4 separate regions of the Homo sapiens genome follow, and regions 1, 2 and 4 are each linked to region 3. Evidence: promoter capture Hi-C in human tissues and cell types (Jung and others, 2019). All regions are on one chromosome and are shown on one strand. Each heading gives the region's core, a stretch centred on a gene start or on the middle of the fragment in contact. The rest is flanking DNA. Distances are from core to core; before and after follow the strand shown.

Region 1 (3,456 bases), core at 329-2,828, 160 kb before region 3:
TTAGCTTTCTTATTTTGTCAGTGGGAGGACTGAGAAGCAAGGAGGTTGATTGTCTTGTTCAAGGGCTTGGGAAATTCCTAGCTTGGATCTCTTCATTTGGCCTCTCTCCACAGGACCTTTGCTGTCTGTTGGTAGAGGGGTCTTTTGAGTTTTCTTTCCTTGTAAAGGGAAGGTTCTGCTGCCCATAAAACCTTCAGCTAACTTTGTGGATCCGCTAAGAATCATGTTCAGCTGCATATAACAACATGTCAGATATATCAATGGCTTAAACTTATGAAGATATATTTTATTCCACATAAAATAAGTTTGGAGATGTGCAGTCTGGGGAAGATATGGTGACCCCATGATCATCAGGGACTCATCCTCCATCTCTATTTCTGCTCTTCCATTCTTATTTGACTTCCATCTGCTCTTCCATTCTTATTATTTGGCTTCCATCTGCAGGATCACCACAATAGTCCAAAATGGTGTTTGGAGCCTCATCTATCATATCTGCATTCTAGGAGGTAGGGTGTGGAAAAGGAAGGGGCAAAGTGACACATGCCAGCTGTCTGTCTTCTCATTCTAATAGCTTTTGTTTACTTCTCACTGGTCATAGCTCAGTGAAGTGGCCACTTTAATCTCAAGATAAGCTGGGAAATGCATTATTTTAGCTAGGCACATTGCCACCCTAAATAAAATTGGAGCTCTCTTACTAATAAAGAAAGGGTAAATGAATGTTGAAGCAGCAATGAGAAATCTATGCCATACCTTCCTGGACTTTTTCTCTAGCGGATATCTTAGAATGTTCCCATCATTAGGGGGCATCCTAAACTGTTGGGGAAGTTCTTTCTGAGTCATCTCCTTTTCCTGTTAGATCTCCCCATCCCCCTAAACAATGTCAATCTGAACCTCTGTCTAGTTCTAGTATCCACCCACTATGAGCTGACTCCTTTTATCCTCTCTTGGCAGAGGTTTTGCTGTAGCACATATCGGCACCAGCAATAGTAAAATGCATACCCCAAATATGCTCCATTTACTGTCTTTTTAAAAATGCTTTTCACGTCATTACCGAACCCTAAGTAGGAGGAAGACACTCCTTAGTCAGTGGTAAGGCAATCTCTGCTCCTCTTCAAAAGGTTGTCTGTAGAATGATGATAATAACAGTCTCAACCAGTAAGATGTTTTATGATGATGATATAAGTTAAAATAATGTGGAAAGCACTTAGGACACTGTTTTGGAACAAAATAAGTCCCCTATGAATGTCTGTTATTGTTATTATTCATTAATATTATGATTGTTATTATTATCAACACATGGCTTTTTTTATACTGAGGAATATTTAATGATCATCTAGGAAAAAGATATTCTTGTCTCCTAAACAAAAATTCCTCCCAGGAGAATTATTAATGGGCCTGTAAGGCAAGGGAGAGGCATTATGTTCAGGAAGCCACTGCAAGAACAGCTATATAATACCATACAAGCTTTACCAAGTCACCTAGTTGGTAAAGTGGTACTTTACAGTGTGAGTGTTGGGAGACATGCTTCCTGTAAGAGAAGCTTCTCATCTCCAGGAGGCCTTCTGAGCCAAGGATGGTGATGAGGTGGCAAGGAAGATACTTAGAGAAGAGCCAACACACCAAACCAGAGGGAAACATGCTAAACTGTCTCCTTCACAAGTTTTCATAGACTTGTATCTGGTAAGCTGGGTTCCAGGTGTTTTTGGATGAAATTCCTACTGATTGAGTTTCCTAACTACATTCCAATAATCCACATATGCTTTTGATGAGCTGCATGGAAATTTAATGTTGTTCTAAATTAAGTGGAGAGGAGAACAGGAATGTGTTAATTATACATAACAGTGAACCAAGTGTAAAAACTGAAGTCTGTAAATTTATTCTTTGAAGCATATTTCTTGCTTAAAAAAAAAGAAACTAAAAAAATGATGAGACCGTTTAGTGCCTGAAAAATGTGGGGCACTGGGACATGCTATACTTTGAGTTGTTCTTTGAATACTGTGAACTTAGTCGTTATTGAGAGGCTGATGTGCCCTCAAGAGTGATTGTAATTAAAGCCTGATTTGAGAGTCTTTTTTATTTCTGATATGGTTCTAAGAGTGTGTGAGAAAGTTCTGAGGACTGACATTTGGAAAGAAGCAGAGAGTGACTTTTGTATCCTGAGTAAATCACTTCCAATGAAGAGACAGAATTAGAGACAAGAACAGAACAAAAGGTTTAGGGGAAAGGAGGATCTTAGGTGAAAAGGAAACATATAATTCTATCAAAATGGTTTATACTGACATGCTACAAAGGCACATTCAACTAGCAATCACTTTTGAAATAGTCAGGAGAGAGAAATGTGGACACTTACATGAACTGAAAATTCCATTCAAGCACCTCTTTGGATCTTCTTTATCTATACTTTGCTTGGAAGTGAACAAAAATAGATCTTTGAGTATGATTTTTCATTTTCCATTGTCAGAGCACAGGATGTCTCACATGAGGGATAGTAACGCTAAGCACTTTCTAGTTGAGGAGAAAGGCGACAAAGATTATCAAGGAAGATCTCCAAAGAACATGGAATTGGAATTCAGGAAAATAGCTTCCTTCCCTCTAACTCTGTGGCCAAGTTTCTCTCCTGCTTTCTCAAAGATGATTCAGGTTCCTAAATGTAAAATGAAAATCATTCATTCCACCTATCTCATCTATTTAAGTTAAATAAAGCTTCAATATATAGTAGCTGTATAGCAGCTTAGAATGTCCAATAAAAAATAGTCTGCTCAATTTGCAAATTTGCACCAGAGTCTGGAAGATAGGAATATACATATAGATATATAAATATAGTACACTTAAAGTCCGGTGGTAATTGATGATCATTTCCTAGTTAGTAACCAAGACTTACCTAATCAGCAAGGATAGTTTAGGGAGTCGGGGTGGAGAGTTAAGGAGCAGCTCTCTACCCTGCAAGCGGGGAAAGACTTGAAAGATGCAGATGCTATCAACAAACTGTATTTGGATACTGAAACACAGTTGAAGATATTGAGAAGAGAACCCTTTCCAAATTGAGGGGAGCACTCCTTGAGGGGAGAAGCATACAAGATTGCTGGTCTGCAATCTTACTGGGAATGAGGGAGAACACTTAGATGAATCCACGAAACAAACTTTGATAAAAGGAGCAAATATCATAGGAGGGGAAGGAGGGAGTTGTGGTAGGTCCCTGATGACTTATATGGATAAAGAACTGGAAAACTACCCTGAAATAACACTTAGACTATCTGCTACCTACATACCAGCTATAGAGCCTGGGTAATATTAAAAACAAAGGGTATTTGAGATAAAAATCCAGGACAATGTGATTTTGTGGTTATGGCTGAGATTTTTTTTTTTTTTTTTTTTTTGAGACGGAGTCTCGCTCTGTCGCCCAGGCCGGACTGCGGACTGCAGTGGCGCAATCTCGGCTCACTGCAAGCTCCGCTT
Region 2 (3,200 bases), core at 621-3,120, 180 kb before region 3:
GCATGTTTTCCAACAGTTTGCTCTTGAATTGCTACATTCTATGGCATGTACTGGAAAAAAGGATGATAGCAAAATGACTGAAATGTAACAGAGTGTAGTCAATACGTTACTCTTCAAAAGCCTTCTGAATGATTACTCTGGCATCAAAAACGTAAAGGCTCAGACTTTCCACTCTCCACTTTCAGCACTCTCACCACAACAAAATATACAGGTTTCTTTATCTTAGGCTCTGCATACTGTTCCCTTCAGGTCCCTTGGTTATAGGGTATTGCTGTTCAAATCAATATTATTCTGAATAATAGATCAAAATGATCATTTCTGAAAATAGATAATGCAGCATTTTCCCCTTAGACCGTCGTTTCTTCTGACCCCATTACCATTAATGACCTCCTCACTATGAACAGCAGCCAAGTATCTCCTAGTAACTAAAATATGTAAAGGGTTTAATGTTATTTTTGAATAGTGGTTACATGCACATAGTGTAAAATTCAAAGAGCACCAAACATTATACATTCAGAGGAACTCTCCTCCTCTTCTCAGCTCCTGTGCCCCATTTCCCTCCTCAGAGGCAACCTCTGCTGTCGATTTCTTGGGTGTGCTTCGAGAGGTACTCTGCTGTTTTCCATGAGTGGTAGCATTGCAAACACGACTACTGTGCAGCACCTTTTTAAAAAAAAAAACATATTTATTGAGGCATAATTTGCACACTATACAATTCACCCATTTTTAAGTGAATATCCAATGGTTGTGTAAGCTTACAGAGTCATGTGACCATTTCCAAAGTCCAATTTTAAAACATTTATACTATTCCAAAAAGATCCCTGGTGACCATTTGCAATCATTCCCTGTTCTCACTCCAGCCCCAGGAAACCACTAATGTATTTTCCATCTTTATAGATTGGCTTTCTGGGGTCTGTTGTGACTGGCTTCTTTCACTTAGCCTAATGTTTTTAAGAAACACCAATGTTGTAGCATATACTGCTACTTCATTTCTTCTTATTACTGAGTACTATGAATGTCAGAGGACTACATAATGTGGAAGTTGGCAAATTTCCTCTTTTTGACTTATGCATGGTATGTTAGCAATCCATGTTTGCAACAGTTTCCCACCCTTGGAGCTTTATCCTCTAATAACTTCTCAAAGTATTTCTTCCTAACACAAATAATGGTTTCCCTAAGACGTATTTTGATGAATAGTCTCTTTAGTCCTCTTCTTGATATATTAGTATGAGAGAGCTCTTAGGAAGCACATGAGAGGGGAAGGACTGAATAAAGAAGTTGAGAGAAAGTCAAATATAATTGCAGCCCATGCAGAGGTGTCCGTTCTAACATTGCTTTCTAACAGCCATTCCAACATGCCTAGATATATATATATTCCATTTAGTCCTACCAGACCTCCATTCATTCAGATACAAGAACACTTTATAATTGAGCAAGTTAATGTTTATGTAATAAAATATTGATTAGAAAGAGCAAGTGTCTTTAAAGTTGAACATCTCTGGGCTCAAATCCCAGCTTCATCATGTCCTAATTGAGTAAATCTCTGCTAAGTGGCAATGAGCAGTAACACACATGCCATTGTGTAAGGATCAAAAGATGAAATATACAAAACACCTAGAGCAGTGTTTGGCACTAAGTAGGGACTCAGTAAGTAGTAATTGTTATTTTCACATCTCTAGAAAGAAGAAATAACTATCTTTGTCTGCTGGCAACGTTTCATCTTTTTCCACCACTAATGAATAGATATATTCCAAGGTAATCATTAAATAAATTCTCAGTCTTCATAGATAAAATGACTGTACGAATTTTATTCTGTCAATGTAATAAAATAATTAAGTCATTGTTTTTAAAGGCTTTGACAGTTGCAATGTAAGAGCGAAGAAGCCATTCTCAGCATCAACCACCATCAAAAAGTGCAAGATAATTAATTCAGAGGTTGTGGTTTAATAGAATCTATTATAAAATAACATCTAACAATGGAATTAAAATTGTTTTTATATAACACTGTATTCTTTGACATTCACAACTGACCCTTGAGATAAGTAGACTTCCTGTGATTACCCCTAGCACGGGTGAGGAAACGAGGCTCACACATGTGAACAACCCTGAATCCTGGGCTTTCCCCTCTATGTTGTAAAAATTTGATTAAATAAAATAATGAATTTAAAAAAGCTTCTTAAGCCATAAAATGTTGTGAAAATATAAGTAGCTATTGTGATTGTTCTTATCTTGGAGTAGACAATCTAATAAATTCTAGAACTCAAAAGTTTATCTTTTATAGTTAAAACCAAAGCATTTAATTCTACTACCAAAATCTCCAGAAGGTTGAGCTCTTCTCAGACGACCTTAATCTTGGTTCTTATTGTAAACTAAGGATCTGCATTTCCTCTAGGTCTGTGAAATTAGGTGAGGGTTAGAAGAGACACAGTCTTCAAGGCCTTCTAAATGTCTTGAGGCAGCGGGTTACCCAGGACTAGGTCGCTGATAGGAATCAGCTAAAAGCTTTGCAAACAGAAAACCCATATAACCCATTATAAACTTTGGTTGCAAATACAGAATTAGATACTGGAATCATGTGGATCACAAGGTGCCTTCATCTAATGCCTCCTACTCAGAATGGAATTTAAGGACCTTACAATTTTTATTATTACAATAAATATGACCTTACAATTATGATGCCACTCCCCTATTGTACTACTTTCAGCTATGTGTTAGACACATCTTCCTACACATTCATAGCCCTTCCACTATTCAGATTGACCCAGTGTCTCTATCTCCAGGGTTACTGTCACCAGTTACTATTCAGCATGAAAGGATTTGAGTGCAATTTGCATGTCTCTTTCACATTGTTGTTTTAGTAAACTATTGTAAGTCTACTCTTTCTATAGAATTCCTGGAAATTATACAATGTCTGTTTCCCCTTTAGCTAAAAGTGTACTCATTTCATTTATGGAAAAAATCTAGATTATTTTTGTGGGGGTTTAACCAGCTTTGCATTTCACAAGATAAAATACAATCTCAGGGGAATACATTAATGTATAGATACTTAATAAAAATATCTGGTATCTTTCCATCAATAGGCACTCCAAATAATTCTCAATATATTTTTACAGACAAAATTGAAGTATTCAATTTCAAAAAACTTATGAAACCAACCTAAAGACATAAAAGCTCAACATTGATAGATGTCTATCAAATTA
Region 3 (3,282 bases), core at 429-2,928:
GATGAAAGAGATCAGGATGGCGCTGCCCTGGCCCTCGCTCAAGGTCCCGTTCTGGGACGCATTTCGCCCTGGCTCCTCCATGCCGTCCGCAGCGCCGGCCCCGGGGCCCCTGCTGCCGCCGCCTTCGCCGCAGCTGCCCGGGCTGGGGCTAGGAGAGGAGGAAGGAGAGGAGGCGGTGCCATTGGGGAACATCCCAGCTGAGGGGGGCCAGTGGGGCTGCCAGGGCTGGGGCTTTCTCCTCGCGCACCCGCCGCCTGCGCCCTCCCTCCCCACCCGACCGCTTGCCTGCAGCCCACAGCCGCCCAGCGCCTCCGGGTAGAGCGCAACCGCTGCGGGGAGCGCGGCTCCTACCGGCGCCGGCGGGGCGCACAGCCCAGCGGTTGCCTGGGCTCTGCAGTTTGCAGCTCCGGGGTGCCCGGGCACAGGCGACCGTGGAGAGGAGAGGCCAGGATGTGGGAGCACCGCACGGCACAGCCATTAACTGGCGCGGCTCTGGACTGGTAAATGATTAATAGGCACCACCAGCGCGTCAGCAGCTACGAAAAAAGGGGGTGGGGTGGAGAAAGGGAGGAGAGCACATAGGTGGCTTGTCCCCCCCGCCCCCCATTTTTTTCCTTCCCAGTCCTGCACTCTGCTCAACTTTAGTGGCTCCTTCCGGGGTTCCCTCGCAGCACCATCTGCCTCTTGCTCTCAGAGGAACCAAGAGAGTTCCTCGGCCTTACTGGAGGGCGGGTGGGAACCAAAGGTATAGATTCTGTCTCATTCCACTCCTCTCCTACCCAAAGCAAAGACTCAAACGGATCCATGAACATGGATGTCTGGAGTTCATCTCAGTTTCCCTCCATTGCTGCCCTTTTCTCTGGAGACCCCAGCTTCTCTCCCGTCCCGCAGTCCAGAACCCTAAATTCCCTCTTCCCACCCTCGCTTGCCTTGCAGCTCAGACCCGCCAGGGAAGTTCCGGGCCCTCCTTACCCAAAGTGCGCAACCTCCAGACTGAGACGTAGATGGTCGGTGCAAAGTGCATGTGCGGTCTGTTAGCAGGTTGACGATCTTCGCGCAGACCAACTCCCTTCTTTGCGCCTGGCCCCAGCACAGGTGCCCACGCAATTACTCTTAGAATCGCGGAAACTGGCCCTAAGCTGCGAGCGTTATGAGAAGAAAGGACAACCACCGTGCGTTAGGGGCTTCTGCGCTATAACACAGCAGGCAGCTTAGGCTATTGGGAGTGTTCAGGGACCTGAGTGAACCATTCGCAAATCTCTTAATAAAGCTCGTAGCGCTCAGAGCCCCCCGTGTCTCCCACAGGAATATCGACTGCAGAAACGAGGACGCGCAGCTGGGAGCTCTGGAGGAGCTTGAGACTCCCTCCAGAAACGTGCCAGGCGCGGTGTTGGGAATCCACCTAGGTGTTCACTCGGGAAAGATAAGGCTGCGCCGCTTGGAAGGGCTCCACCCGCGTCCCTGCTGTACTTTGTACCCTGGAGAGTTGGCGGGTTCTGGCAGACGAGAGTTTAAAGGCTTGGGCGGGCGGGGACGCCAGCTCTTCTAAATCCAGGTGAGGAGCTGCCGCCGTGCGATGACCAGACCTGTCACCAACCCCAGGAACGGCAGGGCGACATTCGAGTTTTTCCGGGAAGAGCTAGGATGTCAGCTCTTTCTGAGGCTTGATTTGTGAGCTGGCTCTGGGTCACGTGCCCAAACCATTAGGAGATATCAATGTAGGCAAGCCTGAAGCTCACTGACTTCATTTAAGAATCAAAACGGTTTTCCCGTAAGAAAGAATGTATGTTCCGTTATCAGGATTTTAAACGAACCCTGGGACTTACCACCATTCTTACTCTAGGGTCTCTTTGGCTTTCCAACTGTTCCTGTGGAAGGAAGAATCACACTCCATGCAACTTCCCTGTTCCTTTTCATAAACGTTGCTTTGCTCGGTAAGATCCCTGCAAGCCTTTATTTGAAACTAGCCTGTTCACAGGAAGAGTGACCCGCAGCAGCTTAGTGCTCTGCCTCCTTCAAGCTTTGCTGTCTCCAGTTTTTCCTTAGTTTCTCCTTCTCCTCAACCAGGCTGTGCCCGCTGTACTGTAAGTCTCAGTTTTCCTCCTCTCAGTAGAGTTTACTCCAAGGAGAGGCTAAACTCCTCATGGAGGCTATCTGTACCGGTCCAGAATGAAGAAATGGATGCAGAAATTAAAAACAAAAAAGTATATTTCCTAATGCCCTGTTGCTTTATCCAGGTAATCACTTACATATACTGCATGTGTTTTAGTTCCCAAAACTAATTGTCTTGAACAGGAAAGAATAACTTCTGTAGTGTGTTGATGATAGCAATCAAAGACTAAAATAAATGACAGACTTTCATAGGAATGTGTGCAATTATTAATGAGGAATGTGCTAGGATGGAATTTGAAATTTCATACGGCTGAAACTGTTTTAACCCATTATTTTACCTGAACAAATTGCCTTCTTTAAAGTGGAATGTACAATTGGTGTTTAGTTATATTTATTTTTCCTTTACAAATACAGCACATATGGAGAGAAAATAAATGTTCATTAAGTTAAAAGAAAAGAGAGTGGGTATTGTCCCAGAATCCCAGAAGAGCATTTTACTAGCCAAGCCTCATATAATGCCTTAGATGCCTCTGCCAATCACTGACTAAAGACACCTGACTATCTGTACCTCTGGGAGCTTGGATTTCAACAGTCATTATTTAGATGCCTTGGCTTTGATCATGGTTGCTCTTTGGGAAGTGTGTGATGGGAGTCAGTGAAAAACAGCTCTGTTGTTCAGAATTTCATTAAATTCACTTTCAGCTCATCTTAGGGAAAATTTCTCTCAATTTTGTGGCCTCATATACAAAAGAAGAAAACTTAAGACCTGACGTGAGAATGCTTTTTATTTTTATTTTTTTGAGATGCCACTTTTCACCCACTAGGATGGCTATAAGAACATTTTTAAAAACAAAAAATAAACGTTAGTGAGAATGTGGAGAAATTAGAACACTCATACATTGCTGGTGGGAATAAAAAATGATGCAGCAACTTCAGAAAAAAATTTTGGCAATTGCTTAAAAAGTTTAAAAGTTTAAAAGAATGACCATATGAGCCAGCAATTCCACTTCTATTTACTCCTCAAAATTGAAAACAGGTGTTTAATCAAAAACTTGTGCATGAACATTCATAGCAGCACTATTCATAATAGCCAAAAATTAGAAACAATCCAAATATCCATCAATTGCTGAATTAATAAATTGTGGTATATCCATACAATGGAATAGTATT
Region 4 (3,450 bases), core at 851-3,350, 230 kb before region 3:
GCAGAAGAGATCACTATTGGGTATAGGACTTAATACCTGGGTGATGAATAATATGTACAACCCCCTGTGACACATGTTTACCTATGTAACAAACATTCAAATGTACTCCCAAACCTAAAATAAAAGCTAAAAAATTTACATTGTTTTTCAAAAATATAAATGATCTAAATAGCATAATCTGGAATACGTAAAATAATAAAAATTGACCTTAGTGGAAACGGAACTCTAGAATAGCAATCACCATAGGAAAAATTAAATTATCATATAATTAATTCTAAAAATGACTGATAAGATTTTAAGTGTAAATCCTAGCAAATTTTCAGGGAACAGATAATTTACATACCAGTTAAATTATCCTATAGGTGAAAAAAATGTGGAAAGTCTGCTAAAATGTTTTTACTCGCTTTATGTAACACGGATGCCAAAATCTAACAATGATGGAACAAAATGAAAATAAACACTGTGATAACTAACCTGACTCCATGTTCTATGTTTGGCTGCTGACAGCTTCCAGACCCTGCCCTTTCCCTTTTGCCTCTTGTTCCGTATCTGGGCAAACTGATAAGAAACCCTGAGTACTCCCTCCCTTGGTGCTGTTGGAGAAGTTCAAGCCATGCAAACCCTGGCTGTGTGCAAGATGTCACCTAGGTCCTACCTCCTAACCACAATAAAAACCAAAGCCACCTGCATGTCCCTTCACTTAAGTAATATCAGGTCAGCTTTAGTGCTTGCTTTGGTGTCCCCAGAAAGTCCCATTACGTAGGTAAGGAACCTTTTAATACTCTCTTGTAGCACATGTGTCATCCTCAGTCTTGATAATCTGAACCTATTTTAGGTGGGAGGTCGATCTCATTCTCTTCAGGGCAACTACAAAATAATTGGCACTAGGAGACCTGGGGGTCTTTCTTGTTTTTGGCTTGCTACCTGGTTCTCCTGCCTGCTGGTGACAGTGTACATTGAGCTTTTGCCTCCTGGCTAGTTTGTGTTTTGAATTGCTTTACTGCCTACCAGTAAGCTTGCATTTTGAATTGTGTTGTGCTGTGATGCATTTGCTGAATCCTACTAAGTTTCTGGTATAGATTTAACTAATTATGTTGAAAATTTTGACAGGATATTTAGGGTAGGAGTGTGGCATTCGAATTCCTTCTAAAAGTGGGCCTGGGTCATATGTTTGGCTTAGATCTATCCATGTATTTCAATTTCAGCATAAGTCATAGCTTACTCTGGACACGTGAAACAACTTTTACCCAATGACCATTGGCTGAATTTCTCAAGCAGGTGTTGAGCCCCTGTGCAGTATATAGACCCATTAGTTGTGTGCTAGTGTGAGGAAGAGTAGTCACTATGTTGTGTTCTGAGGTCCACATGCTTAAGTTCAGAGAGCTCACTGAGACTCTATAAACCTTAAGATGGCTCTGCTGCTGCTGCTGCTGCTGCTGCTGCTGCTGTTGCCACTCATGCCTCTGTTGCTACAAAGACCCTGGTCCTCAGGATTATACAGAAAAAACTCCCATGGTACCTCCTATGGCATAGACTCTTATGAAAAGCAACCCTAACTGCTCTACACTCAACCCCATTATAGGTCCAGAGGGCACTGTTACGCTATTAAATAACCATAAAAGGAACGGGCAAAGATTGTGGGGTCTATTGAGTATTGCAGCTTATCAACATATCAAGTGGTTAATTCATACCCAGCTTAATTCCGGAGTCCCTAAACCATCATAACAACATTCACCATGTGGGAGGTCCCTACCCCACGATACTAATTTAGCACTCTCTGAAGGATGAGACTTACAAAAATGAGCAGAATGGAGAAAACTCCCCTTTCCCCCTCTCCATGTAGTATATCCAGTAACTTTAAACATAAAATAAAACAACAACAACAAAAACACTTTATACAATGGGAAGAAATAGGCACTGAAACAGGGATCTGTGATTTGGTCCAACTGGAAATCAAAATTCACTAAAATAATTTGTGGAAAAGAAAGATAAAAATGACTATTGATTATTGTGTTTCTACAAAATAGGTACTAAATTAATGTCTGCTGAGATGTGCCAATTGGAAAACATTTATGGCCTAATTAATGGGGCTCAAATTACAGTTGTACCTGGGAATGCCACAAAATATAAACCAGGTACCCCCTATACTCTTAGTGGAGTTACTGACCATAAAATAGAGGACAAATAAATATACCCAACCTTAGCCTTGAAAATGTTGCGTATATTCCCCACAATCACAGTGTTCCGTGCCCAATGTCCCATAGTGGGCATAAACATTTTGACCTAGTAAATAATAGAGTAGAATTAAACCTCTGACACTTAAGATTAGCTTGATAAAATGGGGCTCCATGGACTCATTCACCCTAAATCCTATACCAGGTTAAATAGTACAGATCAATATAGATTTAAACAAGTTCTGCAAAAATTAAGGTCATATAAGACCAGCTGAAGGAAGGGGCCACTGTTCCTATATCCTGATGTTTGCTAATGGTCAAACCTAATAAAAATAAGTGGTGCCTAACAGTGAGGCTTGGTGCCTCTAGCATCTCAGATTAATGAAATAAAAATGGATGATGTAATAGGGGGAAACGTTAGATCTCTACCTCACATTCTACCAAAATAAATTCCAAATGAAGCAAGGAATCAGCTATGAGAATAAAATAATAAAAGTTATGAATGTTTATGTACATAGAAATTTATAGTCTTGCATTGAGGAGGGACTTTTTTAGAATAACACTACACCAGAAGCCATAAAGGAGCGAAATTCTGGATTTGTATACATAAATATTTAAAATTTCCTTATAAAATAATAAAGTCTGACTAGAATTAAAAGAAAAACAGTAAATAAACAGGACATTTGCAGCATATATGACAAGGAATTAATATCTGTTACTTAGAAAGCTTCTTTAAAAAGTATATAAATATAGCCTGTAATCTCAGCACTTTGGGAGGCCGAGGCGGGTGGATCACGAGGTCAGGAGATGGAGACCATCCTGGCTAACACGGCGAAACCCCGTCTCTACTAAAAAAATACAAAAAAATTAGCCTGGCGTGGTGGCGGGCGCCTGTAGTCCCAGCTACTCAGGAGGCTGAGGCAGGAGAATGGCGTGAACCCGGGAGGCGGAGCTTGCCGTGAGCCAAGATCTCACCACTGCACTCCAGCCTGGGCGACAGAGCGAGACTACGTCTCAAAAAAAAAAAAACAAACAACAACTCAAAGTATATACATATAAATACACAAAAGGATGAAAAGGCAACTCAGTGAAAAAAATAAAAATAATCATTAAGAATATGACAATATCTATATTTAACTAATAAATATAGAAATTAAAACAATGTGATAGTATTTTGTGTCAAATTGGTAAATAAAGAAAATTAAGAACAAGTAGCTTTGGCTTTCCTCGATGCAGACAGATGGGGACTTTGATATGCTGCTGGTGGCAATATAAA

What was found. The method cuts DNA at HindIII sites, captures the fragments that hold promoters and counts their contacts. A contact is called where the count stands out against the background at its distance.
Region 1: a fragment that was not itself captured here is called in contact with the fragment with the promoter of SSTR1 in region 3 in 2 of the 25 tissues and cell types used here (bladder and stomach).
Region 2: a fragment that was not itself captured here is called in contact with the fragment with the promoter of SSTR1 in region 3 in 3 of the 25 tissues and cell types used here (dorsolateral prefrontal cortex, mesenchymal stem cells and mesendoderm cells).
Region 4: a contact is called between a fragment that was not itself captured here and the fragment with the promoter of SSTR1 in region 3, in 4 of the 25 tissues and cell types used here (H1 embryonic stem cells, hippocampus, mesenchymal stem cells and 1 more).

What each region holds. Positions count from the first base shown.
Region 1 is chr14:38,363,966-38,367,421 of GRCh38, reverse strand. No RefSeq gene overlaps it. Among named protein-coding and RNA genes, the nearest start is that of CLEC14A, 110 kb to the right of the region's middle. The HindIII fragment of the contact is 3,278 bases long and covers 1-3,217 here.
Region 2 is chr14:38,382,824-38,386,023 of GRCh38, reverse strand. LOC124903304 (a long non-coding RNA gene) reads right to left here. Exons shown (of 3, transcript XR_007064118.1): 3 at 1-663. Among named protein-coding and RNA genes, the nearest start is that of CLEC14A, 130 kb to the right of the region's middle. The HindIII fragment of the contact is 3,104 bases long and covers 319-3,200 here.
Region 3 is chr14:38,206,300-38,209,581 of GRCh38, reverse strand. It overlaps SSTR1 (somatostatin receptor 1), which reads right to left and starts at 1,678. Exons shown (of 3, transcript NM_001049.3): 1 at 1,478-1,678; 2 at 973-1,139; 3 at 1-536. The coding sequence starts at 192. It overlaps LOC124903303 (a long non-coding RNA gene), which reads left to right and starts at 295. Exons shown (of 2, transcript XR_007064117.1): 1 at 295-500; 2 at 1,306-2,367. RefSeq lists enhancers at 1-231, 1,215-1,876. The HindIII fragment of the contact is 11,122 bases long and covers 1-2,676 here.
Region 4 is chr14:38,439,510-38,442,959 of GRCh38, reverse strand. No RefSeq gene overlaps it. Among named protein-coding and RNA genes, the nearest start is that of CLEC14A, 190 kb to the right of the region's middle. The HindIII fragment of the contact is 5,114 bases long and covers 1-3,450 here.